2 separate regions of the Homo sapiens genome follow, and region 2 is linked to region 1. The links are contacts of gene promoters, found by promoter capture Hi-C in blood cells and fetal thymus (Javierre and others, 2016). All regions are on one chromosome and are shown on one strand. Each heading gives the region's core, a stretch centred on a gene start or on the middle of the fragment in contact. The rest is flanking DNA. Distances are from core to core; before and after follow the strand shown. Region 1 holds the start of CCNA1 (cyclin A1). Region 2 has its middle 77 kb from the start of STOML3.

What was found. Contacts are between HindIII fragments. The CHiCAGO score rates a contact against its expected background, and 5 or more counts as called.
Region 2: a fragment that was not itself captured here is called in contact with the fragment with the promoter of CCNA1 in region 1 in 2 of 17 cell types (total CD4 T cells and total B cells); the score reaches 7.6 in total CD4 T cells.

Annotation. Positions count from the first base shown.
Region 1 is chr13:36,430,679-36,434,442 of GRCh38, forward strand. CCNA1 (cyclin A1) reads left to right here and starts at 1,817. Exons shown (of 9, transcript NM_001413923.1): 1 at 1,817-2,051; 2 at 2,355-2,543. The coding sequence starts at 2,379. RefSeq lists silencers at 1,121-1,190, 1,471-1,520, 1,551-1,710. The HindIII fragment of the contact is 15,627 bases long and covers 1-3,728 here.
Region 2 is chr13:38,911,975-38,915,738 of GRCh38, forward strand. It overlaps the pseudogene ANKRD26P2. Among named protein-coding and RNA genes, the nearest start is that of STOML3, 77 kb to the right of the region's middle. The HindIII fragment of the contact is 685 bases long and covers 1,650-2,334 here.

The DNA.
Region 1 (3,764 bases), core at 567-3,066:
CCAGGAAATAACAACACTGTTGGCAGGTGGGGGAGGGCGCCCGGGAAGATATCCAATAGTGGCGTCAGGCAAGAGGACAGAAATGCTCCTTTCATTCACCTTTCGAAGCAGAGCATTTGGTCCCCGTTGGCCTCTGACTCTCTGTTGCGGCAATCTAGATGTTACCAGAATTCCCGTGTTTCCTTCATATTCAAAGGCACAGGAAATCTGGGGTGCAAGCGGACTGCTGTCTCTCAAGGAATAGAAGTCTGTGACAAACGTATAGAAATGAGTTTCATGTTGAACAAGATCCGTTTCTGCGTTCCTCCCTCATCCAGCCTTGATTCTCCAGATGCTTACCAACTTCTTAATATTTACCTCAACTGCAAGGCTTTCAACCGGCGCTTTTGTTAGAATACTACTATCTTCCCATTAAAGCAATGTCCACACTCAGTTTGCTTGGTGAAAATGTTAATAACGCACACTTAGAAAAACGGTGATAACCGTTGCTTGCATAAAGTGGCCATTTGAATAGACTTTGGATCTGATTTAGAGATTTAGGGATGGATGTTTTAAAAAAAGCAAAAGTAGTAACAGACTATAGCATTGGTAATGTGTGTGTGCATATATACATATTATTTTTAAAAAAATAAAGTTCGATTATTTCACCTGGCTTGTCAGTCACCTATGCAGGCGTCTGAGCCCCCGGGTTTCCAGGAGCCCCCCGTATAAGGACCCCAGGGACTCCTCTCCCCACGCGGCCGGGCCGCCCGCCCGGCCCCCAGCCCGGAGAGCTGCCACCGACCCCCTCAACGTCCCAAGCCCCAGCTCTGTCGCCCGCGTTCCTTCCTCTTCCTGGGCCACAATCTTGGCTTTCCCGGGCCGGCTTCACGCAGTTGCGCAGGAGCCCGCGGGGGAAGACCTCTCGTGGGGACCTCGAGCACGACGTGCGACCCTAAATCCCCACATCTCCTCTGCCGCCTCGCAGGCCACATGCACCGGGAGCCGGGCGGGGCAGGCGCGGCCCGCAAGGACCCCCGCGATGGAGACGCAACACTGCCGCGACTGCACTTGGGGCAGCCCCGCCGCGTCCCAGCCGCCTCCCGGCAGGAAGCGTAGGTGTGTGAGCCGACCCGGAGCGAGCCGCGCCCTCGGGCCAGCGTGGGCAGGGCGCCGCAGCCTGCGCAGCCCCGAGGACCCCGCGTCGCTCTCCCGAGCCAGGGTTCTCAGGAGCGGGCCGCGCAGGAGACGTTAGAGGGGGTTGTTAGCGGCTGTTGGGAGAACGGGTCACGGAAACAGTCCCTTCCAAAGCCGGGGCCATCGTGGGGTGGGCGAGTCCGCCCTCCCAGGCCGGGGGCGCGGACCAGAGGGGACGTGTGCAGACGGCCGCGGTCAGCCCCACCTCGCCCGGGCGGAGACGCACAGCTGGAGCTGGAGGGCCGTCGCCCGTTGGGCCCTCAGGGGCCTGAACGCCCAGGGGTCGCGGCGAGTCCACCCGGAGCGAGTCAGGTGAGCAGGTCGCCATGGCGATGCGGCCCCGGAGAGCGCACGCCTGCCGCGGTCGGCATGGAAACGCTCCCGCTAGGTCCGGGGGCGCCGCTGATTGGCCGATTCAACAGACGCGGGTGGGCAGCTCAGCCGCATCGCTAAGCCCGGCCGCCTCCCAGGCTGGAATCCCTCGACACTTGGTCCTTCCCGCCCCGCCCTTCCGTGCCCTGCCCTTCCCTGCCCTTCCCCGCCCTGCCCCGCCCGGCCCGGCCCGGCCCTGCCCAACCCTGCCCCGCCCTGCCCCGCCCAGCCGGCCACCTCTTAACCGCGATCCTCCAGTGCACTTGCCAGTTGTTCCGGACACATAGAAAGATAACGACGGGAAGAGCGGGGCCCGCTTTGGGGTCCAGGCAGGTTTTGGGGCCTCCTGTCTGGTGGGAGGAGGCCGCAGCGCAGCACCCTGCTCGTCACTTGGGATGGAGACCGGCTTTCCCGCAATCATGTACCCTGGATCTTTTATTGGGGGCTGGGGAGAAGAGTATCTCAGCTGGGAAGGACCGGGGCTCCCAGATTTCGTCTTCCAGGTAACGTGGGTTTAGTATCCCGACTTGGAGGCTTGTCAGAATGTTTCTCTCCTTCCAGCCCAACACGAAGTCTTGGGATAAAAAGCCTCCCTCAGGGATTCAAATAACTGTTTTGATTCAGAGCAACTTTGATCGCCTGTGCGGTCGCACCTGCCCTTTCAGCCCCAATAATTACTGGGAAGATCAGCAATTGGTGTTAGTCCCATTGCTTGGTGCTCTCCCTCCTAGAGGTTCGCTGTGTCCTTGGAGCCCGGGGTGGACGGAATCGACTAAACAGCTTGTCTGTTTCTCTTTCCCTGGTAGCAGCAGCCCGTGGAGTCTGAAGCAATGCACTGCAGCAACCCCAAGAGTGGAGTTGTGCTGGCTACAGTGGCCCGAGGTCCCGATGCTTGTCAGATACTCACCAGAGCCCCGCTGGGCCAGGATCCCCCGCAGAGGACAGTGCTAGGGCTGCTAACTGCAAATGGGCAGTACAGGAGGACCTGTGGCCAGGTAATGACTCAGACGCATTGAGAATGATGCTTGTGGAGAACAGCTCTCCTGCTTTGGTGCCAGGTGCTTTTCTCTTGCCCTTGTACCTACAACTCCCCCTGAGTATTACAACCCTGGAATCTGGACTACAGGAAAGTTGATTGATTTATTTTCTTTCTTTCTTTCTTTCTTTCTTTCTTTCTTTCTTTCTTTCTTTCTTTCTTTCTTTCTTTCTTTCTTTCGTTCTTTCTTTCTTTCTTTTCTTTCTCTTTCTTTCCTTCTTTCTTTTTCTTTGTTTCTCTTCCTTCTTCCTTTCCTTTTTTTTTCTTTCCTTTCCTTTCCTTCTTTTTTTTTTTTTGAGACGGAGTTTCGCTCTTGTCGCCAGGCTGGAGTGCAGTGACGCGATCTCGGCTCACTGCAACCTCCACCTCCCGGGTTCAAGCGATTCTCCTGCCTCAGCCTCCCGAGTAGCTGGGATTTCAGGCACCCACCACCACGCCCGGCTAATTTTTGTGTTTTTAGTAGAGATGGGATTTCACCATGTTGGCCAGGCTGGTCACCAACTCCTGACCTCAGGTGACCCGCCCACCTCGGCCTCCCAAAGTGTTGGGATTACAGGCGTCAGCCACGGTGGCAGGCCAGTTGATTTCTTAAGATCACCTTGAGGGGTTCGGTTTTCAGCTAGAAATAGTGATTAGTTTTCTTTGTTATTTTTTCCACTATCAAGGAAATAGGTCTAGGAACTGTTTGGGTTATGTATATTAAAGTAATTTAAGGGCTGGGCTAAAAGGAAATGTGAATGCTTCCAAATAAACTGTGGAACTGGGGTTCCTCCAGGTTAGAGCAGTGTTCACATTGATGCAGGCTGTGCCTAAAGCAAACCTGGATAATCTTGGCTGTGTTCATTGCGGATAGTGTTAAAATCAGGATTAGATCAGGCTAGATTAGATTACTCCAAAATGGGTGCTTTGAAGGCAGACATCTTCCCAGTACTGACTAAGCAGCTATGCTAACAGGTAATGGTCCCTCAGATATTAGTTGTGTGAACTTAACTGATCATAGATACCTTAACCAGACTGAAAACTATACCTTTCCTATTTCATAAGTGAGAAAATCTGAAAGGTTTAAGCCTCTGCCAAAAGAAAGCTATGGTAGAAACTAGATTAGAAGCCTCTCATCTACTGACTCTTCACATGCTCTGTTCAAAGCTTTGGAGAAAATTGAGTGGAAGTGGTTTTAACA
Region 2 (3,764 bases), core at 742-3,241, 2.5 Mb after region 1:
AATATACAGCCTTTTAATTGTAACTTTTATGCTTTTCAAAAAGTAGTAGCATTTTTTGAAACATCTAATTAACTGTAGTTCTCTACTTAATTATGAAATTGTGTGGGGATACTTCAAACTATATTGCAAGTGTTCCCATCTAGAATGTTTTTATTTAAATCTTTTGTGCAAAAGGTGTTCTCTCACTAAATGCCCAGAAAAGGTTCTAAAATTCTTTACTAAACATAATATTTTTGGTGACAATGACAATATGATATACAATGCCTTTACAAGTTTTTTGACCAATAGCTTTTGCAATATTTTAAGAGATAGTTTTCCATAATCTTTCTGTGATCATAACATTATAGACAGGCCTTATAAAACTAGTGACATGACAATAGAATTATGAGAAAAATTTTATAAAAGTGATAACTCAATATCAGATAAAGGGAGAAGGCTTTATTGAAAGAAATTTACTTTATCATTAATGAACACTATGTAAAATGTACATTTTTACGTGACTTGAATTAAAAAACTCTTAAAGTAACATTGTTATCTTTCCCCCAAAAGTTCTTCTTATACTTCCTATCTGTAATAGATTGTATTAATTTCTTTATACCCCATTCACAAATACATTCATAGTACATAAATTTTACTAGATAAAAATGAAGTACCTTTCTCATCAGCTTGCTTGTTTTTATGCTAAAGAAATAACTCTCTAGATAAAGAATATTTTTTGTATAACAAATTTAAGTAGAGGACTTTTTTTCTCTTTTGGTAGAAGTAGTTGCCCAACCTTGGGATGGCCTCCTCCTACATACATTTTTTTTAGCCTTTCACTGACCCTTGAACACTTTACCAGTTGCTGAGGGCAACTGCCTTTGGGTAAGAAACACCAGATCAGATATAAAAGCTCAGAGGGTAAAGAAACAGACTCAGAACACGGGAGATGCTCTGAGAGGGGCACCCGAAAACACTGGAAAATGATCTTGAGTGTTAATGACTCCAGTGTTGTCCTGGCTGTTGGGAGGCTGCGGTGGTTTTACCCATATTCACAAGGGGGAAATGAAAACTATTAAATAACTTTTTTTTTTTTTTCTGAGACAGAGTTTTGTTCTTGTTGCCCAGGCTAGAGGGCAATGGTGCAATCTCGGCTCACTGCAACCTCTGCCTCCTGGGTTCAAGCAATTCTCCTGCCTCAGCCTCCCGAGTAGCTAGGATTACAGGTGCTCGCCACTGCGACCAGCTAATTTTTGTATTTTTAGCAGGGACGGGGTTTGTCCACGTTGGCCAAGCTGGTCTCAAACTCCTGACCTCAGTTGATCCATCCTCCTCGGCCTCCTAAAGTGCTGGGATTACAGGCGTGAGCCACCACACCCGGCCTAAATGACTTTTTAAAATTCCCTTTTATTTTATTCTTGCTTTCCCATTAAATCACACATTTTCCTCACATTTCTATGAATAGAAATTCAGAACTTTTATCCCTGGAATTTTTACTGAGTGACTTAATACAGTACCTGGCACAGATTATGGAAAGGAAAAGGAGAGAAAAATGTCTTGGTGACATTAATCATTGTCCTGTTTGGTTAGAAAAGGGTGCCATTAATGGCTTTTGAAGTGTGTAGAATAATAGCCTAGCAGAAAATAAATATTGCCAGAGGAAATAGAAAAGCTTAATAAACTGCTAATTTTTATGTTATGCATAATACTAAATCAAAAGTTCCGTTAGTTCTGTATGGAGTGAAATACTTAAATATTTTAAATAAAAACGCTCCTGCTTTCTCCATGGCCTGTTTATTCAGCTTGAGATTATGTTTCAGTTGGTGGAGGTAGCTTGAAGTCCAACATTAATAAGGAAAGCACAACCGCAACTTTGTTTATACTTTTTTATTTAAAAAAAAAGTAAATAGGCCAGGCGCAGTGGCTCATGCCTCTAATCCCAGCACACTGGGAGGCCAAGGCAGGTGAATCACCTGAGGTCAGGAGTTCGAGACCAGCTTGACCAACATGGAGAAACCCCACCTCTACTGAAAATACAAAATTAGCCAGGTGTGGTGGTGGCATATGCCTGTAATCCCAGCTATTCGGGAGGCTGGGGCAGGAGAATCACTTGAACCCAGGAGGTGGATGTTGCAGTGAGCTGAGATCGCACCATTGCACTCCAGCCTGGGCAACAAGAGTGAAACTCTATCTCAAAAAAAATTAAATTAAACTAAATTAAATAGAACAAAGCCAGGAAATCATGTTGCCAGAGGGCTCAGGAGGGTCTCCAGATACCTGTGAGACCGCAGCCCCACCTGGCGTCCAGATTCTTGACACCATCACTACGAAGAATTCAGGGACAAAGGCTCAAGAAGCTTTTATTGCAAAGTGAAAGTACACACAGGAGAAGAGGACAGATGTGTCCGTGACAATGAGTCATGCACAACAGAATTTGGGGTTTCTGATTTTACGGGTGTTCAATTGAAAGGTGGAATCATCATTAGATATTCTGAAAAAGGAGGGGATATCAGGGACCTCTGCTAACCACCCCCTTTCTCCCTTGTTTGGGTTTCCTCAGAAGAGTCATGGACATGCCACCTTGACCGGGATTTTGGCCATTTTCTCTCTCTTAGTTTTATTGCCCTAAATTCTAGCCATACCAATGGCTTTCAGTGCTCCAAATACATCCCTCCATGCCTGGGTACTTTAGCCATGCTTTCCCCAGTCAGTGATGGTGGGCTAGGCACCTTCCAAGGCAAATGCTCACATACTCTCAGGACCTACCTCTAACACTTCCAGGGCCATGACTCAGAGGTTCCTCCAGAAGCCATGTAGATTACTCCCCAATTCCCCTTACTCCATGCATCTCGTACATCTCTATTCAATGCCATACCATACTGAATTAGAATTGCCTGTTTTAAGAGTGTTTCACAGGCACTCTTGTAGATGCATTTCAAAACTCTGAAAAGTGACTGATACGGAGCTGGTCTTGACTCAATAAATCCCTCAATCTTTTCTCCCGGTCCCATCACCTTGCCTACGTTTTTCTCTTGCCTGAGCCTTAACAGGTAGCACTCACTGTCTTCTGGGATGGCTCTGCTTATAAGATTCTTGAGGATGCCATTCAGAAATACTTGTATTTAAAGAGTATGTGAGATGATGAATTTGCTTAACTGTAATAATCATTTCACTATGTATAAATATGTCAATATATCATGTTGTGCTTCTTAAATTTATACAATTAATAAACTAAAACTTTTTTTAAAAGCCAAAACTAATTGTGTTTAGGAAACCAATTTAGAGATTTTAAAAATTAGCCCTCAAAGACATTTTCAAGCATGTTCTTTCACCACCCTTGTACAATTCACTCATTACCTGGGAAAAATTAAGCATTTGGCACTGAGGAATAATTCAGAGCAACAATTCTAGGGGAAAACGAGAGAGCTGAGTTGGTGATCAAAAAGAACTCAAGCCAACTTTAAAGGCAATTAGCTCCTAGCATTGCAACCACGGCATCAGAGGTGGGGCCTGCCCTCTGTCTTGCACTCATCCCCTTCAGGCTGAGCAAGGTGTTATTTTTAACTAGTTTGTGAATTATAATTCCCTTCACCCTTATGTTAATCATTACCTATTTCACAGGGATGCCCTTATGTAATGAAAAAACCATACAGGATAGTTTGTCTCATGGCGCCCTCTAGTGATAATACAAAGATCACAAACAAAGAAAGTTAATTCACCCAGTGCCAGAATGTGCCAAGAGTAATAGTACTTTTCTTTTCTTTTCTTTTTTTTTTTTGTTTTTG